Regions from separate parts of the Homo sapiens genome. Here regions 2, 3 and 4 are each linked to region 1. The links are contacts of gene promoters, found by promoter capture Hi-C in human tissues and cell types (Jung and others, 2019). All regions are on one chromosome and are shown on one strand. The core of a region is centred on a gene start or on the middle of the fragment in contact, and the rest is flanking DNA. Distances in the headings are between cores, read along the strand shown. Region 1 holds the start of CABLES1 (Cdk5 and Abl enzyme substrate 1). Region 2 overlaps RBBP8 (RB binding protein 8, endonuclease). Region 3 overlaps RBBP8 (RB binding protein 8, endonuclease). Region 4 overlaps RBBP8 (RB binding protein 8, endonuclease).

What was found. Contacts are between HindIII fragments. The study calls those that stand out against the background at their distance.
Region 2: a fragment that was not itself captured here is called in contact with the fragment with the promoter of CABLES1 in region 1 in 1 of the 25 tissues and cell types used here (mesenchymal stem cells).
Region 3: a fragment that was not itself captured here is called in contact with the fragment with the promoter of CABLES1 in region 1 in 1 of the 25 tissues and cell types used here (lymphoblastoid cells).
Region 4: a contact is called between a fragment that was not itself captured here and the fragment with the promoter of CABLES1 in region 1, in 1 of the 25 tissues and cell types used here (spleen).

Annotation. Positions count from the first base shown.
Region 1 is chr18:23,133,855-23,136,955 of GRCh38, forward strand. It overlaps CABLES1 (Cdk5 and Abl enzyme substrate 1), which reads left to right and starts at 1,631. Exons shown (of 10, transcript NM_001100619.3): 1 at 1,631-2,753. The coding sequence starts at 1,909. RefSeq lists silencers at 430-519, 530-639, 1,400-1,479, 1,600-1,809, 1,940-2,149 and 3 more and an enhancer at 830-979. The HindIII fragment of the contact is 17,284 bases long and covers 1-3,101 here.
Region 2 is chr18:22,941,922-22,945,022 of GRCh38, forward strand. The region is part of intron 2 of RBBP8 (RB binding protein 8, endonuclease); the gene reads left to right. Among named protein-coding and RNA genes, the nearest start is that of RBBP8-AS1, 9.7 kb to the left of the region's middle. The HindIII fragment of the contact is 3,388 bases long and covers 6-3,101 here.
Region 3 is chr18:22,966,870-22,969,970 of GRCh38, forward strand. It overlaps RBBP8 (RB binding protein 8, endonuclease), which reads left to right. Exons shown (of 19, transcript NM_002894.3): 5 at 1,937-2,049. Among named protein-coding and RNA genes, the nearest start is that of RBBP8-AS1, 35 kb to the left of the region's middle. The HindIII fragment of the contact is 4,619 bases long and covers 1-3,101 here.
Region 4 is chr18:22,993,407-22,996,507 of GRCh38, forward strand. RBBP8 (RB binding protein 8, endonuclease) reads left to right here. Exons shown (of 19, transcript NM_002894.3): 11 at 1-233; 12 at 315-441; 13 at 2,968-3,056. Among named protein-coding and RNA genes, the nearest start is that of RBBP8-AS1, 61 kb to the left of the region's middle. The HindIII fragment of the contact is 5,082 bases long and covers 1-3,101 here.

The DNA of each region.
Region 1 (3,101 bases), core at 381-2,880:
CAATTGTCATAAAAGGGCTTGGAAGTTTCAAGGTAGTTAGCCAAAATAATTAAAATCCTGGTGAAATTTCACAGAGCTGGCCATTGAGCTTTGACTCCACTGACATGAGGCTGCTGTAAACAGACACCAGGCTCCATGTTTTCAAAAGGCCTAAAAACAGCACAAAATAAAATATAACAACGATTGTTCATGTAAAGGGCCACGTGCCATCTCTGTCCTGAGCAAATGTAACCTGAAACCCTCTCTGTCTGGCACTCCGGGTTGGCGGCACCTCTCTGGACGGTGTATTTGCTCTCCATTACTCAATTTACTTTCCTGAACTTGAAATGGAGTGGAATTTCAATGTAGAGTTACCCATTAGCTCCAGGGCTAAATTTAAACCTTTAATTAAATTAATCCGTTGATCTGAAACACATTGCTTCTCCCTCAAAAGTGCAGCAGGTTTCTTAGGTGTCACAGAGCTTAATTCAGTGTGGCAATTGTTCCTTACTGCATTTGTTAAGTTGCCCATACCGCCTGGGGAAACCCGCACACGTTTTCAGATCCCTCCAGGTGAACTCCTCCACCCTGTCCCCGCCCCCGCCCCCACCCCCAACCAAAACAAGCATTCGTTGTGGGTGGGGACTGCGACTCCTCCCAGATTCAGAGCTACTGCTCTGGGAGGGCCGTCAGGAACCCGTATTTATAGAAGACATGGTAGGTGCCAAACGTGCTTATGAGATAAACGACAGGGTAACTGTCCACATTGGTCCCAGTTTATGAGGGAGAAGAGATCATAATCTACAAAAATTTGCAAGGTGACCAGGGGAAAAGAGTGTAAGGTCATTTTAGCCCACCTGGGTCTTCACAGAAAATGGAGCACATTTCAGAGCCAAAGTAAAAAATTTGCGTTGTCCTTTGCTAAGAGAGAGATGAAAAGTGACAATACCATGGATTGGGGATGCGTGAGTTCGTTGGCCACATGTAAGATGTTCGTGCTTCTGGGCTCTTATGCATCCCAAGGCGTGCATTTATCCCGGGGGCTGCATCCTTGGCCTGGGAATGAATAGACCCAACTGCAATGGTTGTTAGCGATAGCTTTACGGTGGGACAGTCTCCATAGGGGCTGTGGACTTACCCGTGTTATTATGAAAAGGATCTATTTACTTCTCGGGGACCAACGGCCTTGCGGGGTCCAAGTAACTCGCTCGCAGTCCAAAACTCTGCAACGCTCCACATAACCGTCCTGTAGACCCACAACTCTCCCAGGAGCACAGCCCCAGGACCTAACCCACCGGGTTCTGCTCGCTCACCCAATTCCCAGTGCGAGCGCGCGGGGGAAACGTGCTCGCCTCCCGCACCTGGCTTCCGCGGCCCCGGGAGTCGCCAACTCTCCCAGCAGGCAGCTCCGACAACCCGGACAGCCGGGCCGATCCCCCGCCCCACCACCCGCTCGGCTCTCGCGTCCTCCTCTTCCTCCTCCCGTGGCCCCTTGCCTCCCGCCGTCTGCCTCTGCGGCCGCCGCCTGCGGCTTTGTTTTCCTCCCAGGTCGCATTCCCCACACGTGATTCCGTGTTATTGCAAAGAGGGCTTTGGAGCGCGAGCGCGGGGCGCGCGCACCTATAAATACGGACACCCGGCCCCGGAGCCCGCGAGCCAGCGGCCAGGCGACCGGCGGGCGGCCAGCCAGCGAGCCGAACTAGCCGAGCTAGGTAGCGAGGCGTGCGCGTGGGCCGGGGCGGCGGCGCCCCCATCCCCAGCACCGAGGGGCGAGCATGGCCCGCCCGCGGGGGGGCTGGACCGCCGCGCACGCCGCCCGATCCCCGCGCCCTACCCAGCCCGGGTCGCCGCCGCTCGCGCCCGCCGCTTAGCGCTCGGGCGCCGCTCGCTTCTCCGGGCATCGCGGAAATCCCGCCGCAGACGGACACAATGGCGGCGGCGGCGGCGGCCGCCACCACGGCCGCCTGCAGCAGCGGCAGCGCCGGCACCGACGCCGCGGGCGCCAGCGGATTGCAGCAGCCGCCGCCGCAGCCCCAGCCTCAGCCCGCGGCCGCCGCGCCGGCCCAGCCGCCGCCCGAACCCCCCCGGAAGCCGCGCATGGACCCGCGGCGCCGCCAGGCTGCCCTCTCCTTCCTCACCAACATCTCGCTGGACGGCCGGCTGCCGCCGCAGGACGCGGAGTGGGGCGGTGGCGAGGAGGGCGGCGCGGCCAAGCCGGGCGCCGGCGGCGCCTGCGGCGCGAGGACTCGGTTCAGCTTGCTCGCCGCTGCCGAGCGGGGCGGCTGCATCGCGCTCGCCGCGCCGGGCACGCCGGCTGCGGGGTTAGCCGCTGGGTCCGGCCCCTGCCTCCCACAGCCCTCGTCGCTGCCGCCCTTGATTCCTGGCGGCCATGCGACCGTGTCCGGCCCCGGGGTGGCGCGGGGGTTCGCGAGTCCCCTGGGCGCCGGCCGGGCGTCGGGGGAGCAGTGGCAGCCGCCCCGGCCGGCGCCTCTCGCCGCCTGTGCCCAACTGCAGCTGCTCGACGGGTCCGGGGCCGCCGGGCAGGAGGAGTTGGAGGAGGACGATGCCTTTATCAGCGTGCAGGTGCCGGCGGCCGCCTTTTTGGGCTCCGGGACCCCCGGGAGTGGGAGCGGCAGTCGGGGACGCCTCAACTCGTTCACTCAGGGAATCCTGCCCATCGCCTTCTCCAGGCCGACTTCGCAGAACTACTGCTCCCTGGAGCAGCCAGGCCAGGGCGGCAGCACCAGCGCCTTCGAGCAGCTGCAGAGGTCCCGGTGAGTATCCGGGATGCGACGCGCACCCAACCCTGCGTCCCGCCCGGCGCTCCCAGCCTCCCCGCGGTCTCTGGGCTACGGGACACGGGTTGCTCCCATTTTCCCGCGCCCTGCCGGATCCTGTGCTCCGGGCCCGAATCCCAAACCACGAGGGCACCCAAAAGAGGGGGCGTCCCCAGGGAGTGCGGGGTTACACGTGTTTGCACGAGCCCAGCATTCGCAGAGGAGCACCGCGCTTGTGCAGTGGGTCGGGAATTGGGAGTTGCAGGAGCCCAGTAGAAAGCGGCGTCCGAGCCTCCCCACACGAGATCACAAACTTCCTGAAACCCGGTCCAGACCCGGAGGCGC
Region 2 (3,101 bases), core at 450-2,949, 190 kb before region 1:
ATAAGTACTATTTTTTAAGTAGATATGTCATTTTAAAACATTTTGGTTTGGGCCATGCCTTCGTCAATATGTTCCACATAGTTCCATATAAAATTAGAGTCTCTATATGATAACATCAAAGACATGCCTGAAGGGAACTTAATTTTTTTAAGGAGGTGGGGAATCCATTTGTAGAAACCAGTGTAAGAAGCTGTTTGAAAGACATCAAACATGGACTTGTCTGGACTTTGCAGGTTTTAAGGTATATATAGGAATCAAAATTGACTCATGACTTTTAAAGCTTCATGTCAGTAAAAAATAAAAGAGAAATGTTGGGAATGGTAATATTTGAGATATATAGTTTTTACTTAGCTACAGAAATGTACCCATAGGAACTTGCTTGAATCTGAATGCTCTGCTACACGTGTTTAGAATTATTTTTGCCTCTTTTGCCAAAACATAATAAAATGATAGCAAAATATGACAGTATGTGCACTGATCACAACAATATAATAAACTGCATCCATGTCTTTTAAAACTAGGCAAGAATAGACAAAATGCTCTAATTTCTGTTGGAGACTAGCAATATGCAAACCAGACCATTTTTGTTGAAAAATTCTGGAGACATTTATGACCGAGTTTTTATATCCTTTAAGATAATTTTATCCTTTCATGATTGTATCATTTCATGATATGTTCCTTTTGTGACAAATGCTGCTAGTATCAGTGTCACAGATTGTTACTGATGATATACAGTGTTTATGCTTTAAATTCCGAACTCACAGAATTTAATGGAAACTTCAGAATTCTTTAAATTTCAAAAGTTTTAAAGCATATTTATTTGGGTACAAAATTTTATTGCCTTTAAAAATCTTTTTCAGTATCAAGTTTATTATCAAAAGCACAAATAATAAAATAGAATTTAAAATATTTATTTTCAGAATACCACTATTTTAATAAATGATCTTTTGCCTATGCCAGCGTCTGCTATTAACATCTAGCTAATATATTTTCTGTGTCTAGTAAATATGGTAATCAGTTTCAAAGAAAACTAGGTAGGTTTTGTGAGGCAAAGTTGAAACACCTTGAAGAAATGGGAAAGTTTGGGGGCTCTAATAGGACAGGATAAATATTTCTTGATTCATTTTTTAATTGCTCCATTTATTTTCTATACATAGAATCAAAAATTCTAAAAAGAGAACATTATCTTAAGACTGCACAAATTAACAGTGAAAGGAATTGTCCCACTCATTATTAAGAATGCTGTCAGGCTGGGCACAGTGGCACACACTTGGGAGGCCAAGGCAGGAGGATTACTTGAGTCCGGGAGTCTGAGACCAGCCTGGACAACAAAGCGAGACCCTGTCTCTACAAAAAACATTTTTTTAATTAGCTAGGCATGGTGGTGTGTGCCTGTGGTCCCAGCTACTTGAGAGGTTGAGGCAGGAGGATCGCTTGGGCCTGGTAAGTCAAGGCTACAGTGAGCCGTGATTGCACCACTGCACCCCAGCCTGGGTGACAGAAATCCTGTCTCAAAAATAATAATAATATTATTATTATTATCAGTAACTCTCACACCTTTTATTTTTTATTTGCATTCACATCTGTAAATAATAAAATCCACAAAAATTAATTTACCCATTTTGAGATAATTCAATCTTAAGCAAAGTGAGCACAGCTTAAGTATGGCTTTGGAATTTAAATAATTTGTTAGGCAATTATAGAAATGCTAGCAGTAGTAGTTTTGGTTGAAGTTTAATTACTTCATTTGTATATAAAGCCCCCACTGTTTGTCAAGAAAGTGATGTTAGGGGTATTATTTATAATTCAGAACCATAAATAACTTGTTTAAAATGACAGTACATACATTTTATATATATATATGGTTTGGTCTGGGTAAAGAACTAAAATAAGAACATAGCAGTGATTTTTGTTAATGCATAAGGAATTCTTGCCTCATTTCTGAACTCTTAAATTTGCTTTGTGTATTACAATATACAGGCCCTTGATTGTTTCATTTCCTCCAAAATTTATGTATGAGTGTGTGTAAGGTTAATTGTAGCACAGTGCTTGGTCTTGTGAACACTGTTTCCTCAATAGGTATCTTAGGTTGCCAGTGTTACAATCCCAGATACTTTGTTCAACAGATTACCTGTTCATACAGGAGCTACATTGTTGTATAGCCTCATTCCTTCCGATGGGTGTGGAGCAGGATTAAAGCACACTTTATAGGGGTTCTAATTGTAGATTCCTAATTGACTTGGTGAATAGCAAATGCTAAAATTTAAACACACACACATATACACATATAAACCTGTTTCAGGGTGATCTACGTGACAGAACAAATGCCTCACAGGTGTTGAATGCTTACCAGATAAAAGAGTAGTTCTTCCCCTGTTTCCCAAGGATTTTCTTTTGAAGTTTATATGGATTTTCTGTCTCATTGTTTCTTTTCTTAAAATGGTTTGTGGCAAGAATCCATTTCATCTTTGGCTGCACTTTTCACTTTTAAAGGCAGAACTGATTGTTAGAAGTCAGCCAAAATTAAAAACAAAAAAAAAATCTGTCAAGTAAAATTTCGCACATTTTTGAGAAGGGAAAACATGTGCATGGATGCACCACAGGTTTTGGTTTTTTAAACAACTCACTTATTGAAGGATGTTTGGGTTGTTTCTAATGTTTGGCTAAGACTGCTGTGAACATTCAATACAGGTTTATCTGTAACATTTTTTTCACCATCTTATTTATAACATTTTATTTATTCAAATTATAGAGCATAGAATCGAAGATAAAATGTGTCATATCAGTTGGACATTTTCTAAAGGTGAAATTTGAGACATAAGGAAAAAATGTAACATCCAAAAAATTCTCCAGGGCCTTTATTTTTCCACAGTATATGGATTTCCTGGCAATAAATCATTACTATGGAGGGCAATAAGAAGAGATGACTTCTTCTTTAGTGTCTATGTGACCATGGTTGGGAAATGTATAGGTTTGTTTTTAAAATTTGTATTTGTCTAAATTATGTTGTCCAAAAGATTGTATCAAGTTTAACAAATAAAGAAAAATTATGTTCTTAGGAATGATAAATATATTAATGTTTCTATACACATATATGAAAA
Region 3 (3,101 bases), core at 287-2,786, 170 kb before region 1:
GCATGAGCCACCACATCCAGCTAATTTTTGTTTTTAGTAGAGATGAGGTTTTGCCACATTGGCCAGGCTGGTCTCTTAACACCTGACCTCAGGTGATCTGACCACCTCGGCCTCCCAAAGTACTGGGATTACAGGCGTAAGCCACCATGCTCTGCCAACACTTAAATACTTATTATATTATTGGCTTAGTTATTGACTTGAAATTATTATCTTTGGGCCAGGTGCAGCGGCTCACGCCTGTAATCCCAGCACTTTGGGAGGCGGAAGCAAGCGGATCACGAGGTTGGGAGATCGAGACCATCCTGGCTAACTCAGTGAAACCCCATCTCTATGAAAAATACAAAAAATTAGCCAGGAGAGGTGGCGGGCACCGGTAGTCCCAGCTACTCGGGAGACTGAGGCAGGAGAATGGTGTGAACCCAGGAGGCGGAGCTTGCAGTGAGCTGAGATTGCGCCACTGCACTCCAGCCTGGGTGACAGAGCAGGACTCCGTCTCAAAAAAAAAAAAAAAACAATTATCTTCGAATTTATTTCCTGAATTCTTAACGTGGGGTATGTGTCTCCTTTTTAACTGTATTTTTTTCTGATTAGGTAAATAATGAAATTGGAAAATGTTTCAAAAATATGGAAAATGAAGAAGAGAAAATCTCCCATAATACTGTCACCTACAAGATAACTATTATTAACATTTTGGAATATAACTCTTCCTCACCTGCTTGTGTGATATGTGTTTTTCTCTTCAACAGTCACAAATAATTAGTAAAAGCTATTTCGTATTTTTTTTTTTTTTTTTTTGAGACGGAGTCTCGCTTTGTCACCCAGGCTGGAGTGCAGTGGTGCAATCTCAGCTCACTGCAAGCTCCGCCTCCCAGGCTCACGCCATTCTCCTGCCTCAGCCTCCCGAGTAGCTGGGACTACAGGTGCCCGCCACCACGCACAGCTAATTTTTTGTATTTTTAGTAGAGACAGGGGTTTCACTGTGATAGCCAGGGTTGTCTCGATCTCCTGACCTTGTGTTCCGCCCGCCTCGGCCTCCCAAAGTGTTGGGATTACAGGCGTGAGCCACTGTGCCCAGCCTGTAATTTTTTTTATGTAATACATTGTGAATTTTTACTAATAATTTTTTTAATGCCAAAAGGAAAATATGAGGTGACTTTTTCTCCCTTGTATTTCTTGACCTTTATTCAACAATATTGACAAAAAAAAATTTTTTTTTTTTTTGAGTCAGAGTCTTGCTCTGTCCCCCAGGCTGGAGTGCAGTGGCATGATCTCAGCTCACTGCAACCTCCACCTCCCGGGTTCAAGCGATTCTTCTGCCTCAGCCTCCCGAGTAGCTGGGACTACAAGCGAGCACCACCACAGCTGGCTAATTTTTGTATTTTTTAGTAGAGACGGTGTTTACTGTATTGGCCAGGCTGGTCTTGAACTCCTGACCTCATGATCCTGTCGCCGCAGCCTCCCAGAGGGCTAAGATTACAGGCATGAGCCACTGTGCCCTGCCAATGATTGGCAAATAAATTTTGATGAATTTAATTTTTCATCAAAAATATTATTGAACACTCACTATGGGTGACATACTGTGCTGAGCAAAGCAGCTGCAAAGTTGCTTCAGGTATAATTCTACCCCTTGGTATTAGACTAGGGTTCATATTTTGACCATAACAAATTAAAACAAGGTCAGCTTCTTCAATAAATAAGTTCCCTTAGCATGAGTTTAAAATTGGCAGATTTTTATAGAATTGCAATCTGAAGAAAATGGTGGTATAACATGATTTCAGCCTATATAAGAATATGTTAAAGGTATAATAACATCATTAATCTAGTTGATTTTCACAGTATTTGCCAAGTCAGTTCCTTAAATCTTTATAAAAGTCTTGGAATTCCAAAGAAGGAAATCTCTTTTAGTGGATGAAAAATACCTTGTTTTGTTTCATAGGTTAAGAGCAGGCTTATGTGATCGCTGTGCAGTAACTGAAGAACATATGCGGAAAAAACAGCAAGAGTTTGAAAATATCCGGCAGCAGAATCTTAAACTTATTACAGAACTTAGTGAGTTTCCTTTCTTCATTTATTATTTAAAGTATGTAATGTATTATTTTTAAGACCTATTAGTAAATTGGTTGTAATTAAATGGATGGTTTACATATATTTTTCCTTATTTAGTAAAAGTTCAAATGTCCTTTTTTGTACTTTTTGTAGATTTAATCTCATGCTTAATTTAGTAAGAAATAGGGTACAAAAAGGTTGTGCAAATACTGTCCACATTGGTCTTAAGTCATCAGTTGTAAGACAAGAAGCAGGTGGTGTTTTTTTTTTTTGGACATGTCCATATTTGCTTCTTTGGTTTTAATCTTTATTTCATGTAACCTTAATACTTAGTAAAGTTAAATACAAAGCAGACAATTTATTGTTCTACACTTGTTTTCTCTCTTGGTATTTATGACATACTGTTTTCATAAGTATACTATTTTCAGTTTATTCTCCTTACCTATTGAGTGTAGAGTTTTTCTACATTCTTAGCCGCCTTCTTTTATTCTTTTAATACTTCTGTTAACCTTATTCTCTTATAACTATTTATTTCTTTTGGTGACCATTACCTGGATTTCCCATAAGCAACTCACAATCAATATATTCAAAATCTAATTAATTATCTTCTTTTCCAAACTAATTCTGTCTTTTATTTTTTTCTGTTAATTATATTGCTACCCTGTGGTTATTCAAGCAAGAATATTGAATATATGCTCATTGTTTTTAAAAGAGGTAAGAAAGAATATAGCTTTATTCTGCTCCCAGAGGTAACTACTGTTAATAGTCTGATACATATCTGTCCAGGTCCAGGTTTTTCTGTCTCTGTGCCTTGTTAGACCCCGCTTCCCTCCCTTCTCTTTTGAATTTTAATGTTATCATACCATACTTTGTGTTCTAATGTGTTACTTCACTTTAGACTATGTCTTGGAAGTCTTTACATGTTAATATGTCTATAGATTCTGTGGTGTATATGGGTGAACGTGTGCATACATTTATTTAGGAATGTAAGAATATTATCAATGAGTAGAAAATTGTTACATCTCAATAAATATGTAGTTGTTCCTTGTCATCTG
Region 4 (3,101 bases), core at 185-2,684, 140 kb before region 1:
CCATTCCAAAGGGCTTTTCCTCAAGCCGTAAGGCCTCAGATGGCAACTGCACGTTGCCCAAAGATTCCCCAGGGGAGCCCTGTTCACAGGAATGCATCATCCTTCAGCCCTTGAATAAATGCTCTCCAGACAATAAACCATCATTACAAATAAAAGAAGAAAATGCTGTCTTTAAAATTCCTCTACGTCCACGTGAAAGTTTGGAGACTGAGAATGTTTTAGATGACATAAAGGTTTGTGTTAAATGTTCAAGGATTTTGATTAAAATGATTGCTTGTGATTTCATTTAGAGCTAACAATTATTTCTGTTTTAGAGTGCTGGTTCTCATGAGCCAATAAAAATACAAACCAGGTCAGACCATGGAGGATGTGAACTTGCATCAGTTCTTCAGTTAAATCCATGTAGAACTGGTAAAATAAAGTCTCTACAAAACAACCAAGGTGTGTACACCATAAACAGGATCTCCACTTTTTTAATGACTTCAGATTGAATGTCATTATTTACTTTTTTAAATAGATTGAATTGTTTTGGAAAAAAACTTATTTCTTCCTTCAGGTGTCTGTATTTATAGGACGATTCTCACATTTTACCGGTGATTTTTCTGTTCTTTTTTTTTTTTTTTTTTTTTTTTGAGACGGAGTCTCGCTCTGTCGCCCAGGCTGGAGTGCAGTGGCGCGATCTCGGCTCACTGCAAGCTCCGCCTCCCGGGTTCACACCATTCTCCTGCCTCAGCCTCCCGAGTAGCTGGGACTATAGGCGCCCACCATGCCCGGCTAATTTTTTTTTTTTGTATTTTTAGTAGAGACGGGGTTTCACCACATTAGCCAGGATGGTCTAGATCTCCTGACATCGTGATCCACCAGCGTCGGCCTCCCAAAGTGCTGGGATTACAGGCGTGAGTCACTGCGCCCGGCCACTTATATACGTTTTTAAACTCCTTTAAAAACATTGTTGGCCCGGTACGGTGGCTCACACCTGTAATCCCAGCACTTTGGGAGGCCGACGCTGGTGGATCACGATGTCAGGAGATCGAGACCATCCTGGCTAACGTGGTGAAACCCCATCTCTACTAAAAACACAAAAAATAAGCCAGGCATGGTGGCAGGCGCCTGTAGTCCCAGCTATTCGGGAGGCTGAGGCAGGAGAATGGTGTGAACCCGGGAGGTGGAGCTTGCAGTGAGCCGAGATCGTGCCACTGCACTGCACTCCAGCCTGGGTGACAGAGCAAGACTCCGTCTCAAAAAAAAAAAAGAAAAAAAAAATTGTTTGCCTTAAGATATATAGGCATCTTTTCATAATTTTGCTATATTTTATTATTATTATTATTATTATTTGAGACAGGGTCCTACTCTGTCACCCAGACTGGAGTGCAGTGGCATGATCACGGCTCACTTGCAGCCTTGACCTCCCAGGCTCAGGTGGATCCTCCCATCTCAGCCCCCTGGATAGCTGGGACTACAAGCATGCACCACCACACCCAGCTGATTTTTTTATTTTTTGAAGTGACTGGGTTTCGCCTTGTTGCCCAGGTTGGTCTCGAACTACTGGACTCAAGCCATCTGCCTGCCTTGGCCTCCCAAAGTGCTGGGATTACAGGTGTGAACCACCCACGCCCAGCCTGCTATCTTTAAAAAAGTAATTTTTTTTTTCAGCCACCAAACATTTCTGTAGTTCAAGTGCAGTATTTTTTCTTGTATTCTTCATTGGCAAGTTATTCCTTTATTCTGGGTTTATTTTCCCTTTTTCCTGAAGCACAGTCATTAGTTGTTTTTCCAGTGAGTGTTTTAGTCTCTATATGAAAACATTTTTTTCACTATCATTCATGATTTTTTTTGAGCTTTTTGTTTTTATTTTTTTCATGGTTGCTCTAGGGATTACAGTATCTACCTACTTAGCCTTTTACAATCTACTTGGAGTTAATGTACTATTTCATGTTCTGTAACTACACTTTATGTAGTTCCTGTGTATTTTATCTACATATATTGAAAACCCCATCAATGTTATAGTTTTTAATTTTAAAAAATTTTAATTGAAATATAAATCACATACCATAAAAATCACCCATTAAAATGTTCAATTCAGTGGTTTGGTATACCCACAGAGTTGTACAACCATCACTGTAGTCTAGGTTTACAACATTTTCATCACTTTCCTTCCCCATATACCCTCTGCAGTCCTAGGCACCTTAAATCTACTTTCTCTCTTTGTAGATTTGCCTATTCTGGGAGTTTTCATATAAATGGAATCGTTTAATATATGATCTTTTGTTACTTCTTTCACTTGGCATAATGTTTTCAGTTATCTGTGTTACAGCATATATCAATATTTTATTTCTTTTTATTGGATAATTTTTTATTGCATAAGTATACCATATTTTAGGTATTTATTAGCTGACATTCAAGTTGTCACTTTTTTGCTATTATGAACAATGCTGCTATGAACATTTGTATACAGGTTTTTGTGTGGATGTATGTTTTCATTTTTCTTGGATTATACCTAGGAGTGGAATTGTTGGGCCATATGCCAATTCTACATTTTACCTTTTGAAAGACTGCCTGTTTTCCAAAGCAGCTACACCATTTCACATTCCCACCAGCAGTATGTGAGGGTCCCAGTATCTCCACCTCCTCACTAGCACTTGTTATAGCTTTTTGATTTTTGCCATCTCGTGGTTTTGGTTTGCATTTCCTTGACTGCTGATGATGTTGAGCATCCTTTCATGTTTATTGGCAATTTGTATATCTTCTTTGGAGAACTGTCTATTTAGATCCTTTGCCCATCTTTAATTGGGATATTTGTCTTTTTATTATGGAGCTGTGAGAGTTCTTTATATATCTTAGATATAAGTCCTTTACCAGACATATGATTTGCAAAAATTTTCTATTCTTTAGGTCCCATAATATTTTAAAGTGATGAGAATTTTTGAAATCAGTTTTTTAATTGCATGCTCTTTCCCTTTACCTAAGATGTATCCTTTGAAAATATCCAGTGGAGTATAGATCCGGGAGCAGACCTTTCTCAGTATAAAATGGATGTTACTGTAATAGATACAAAGGTAAGTTAAAAAGTAAAACCAAAACTCATTTGACTTTTATTCCAA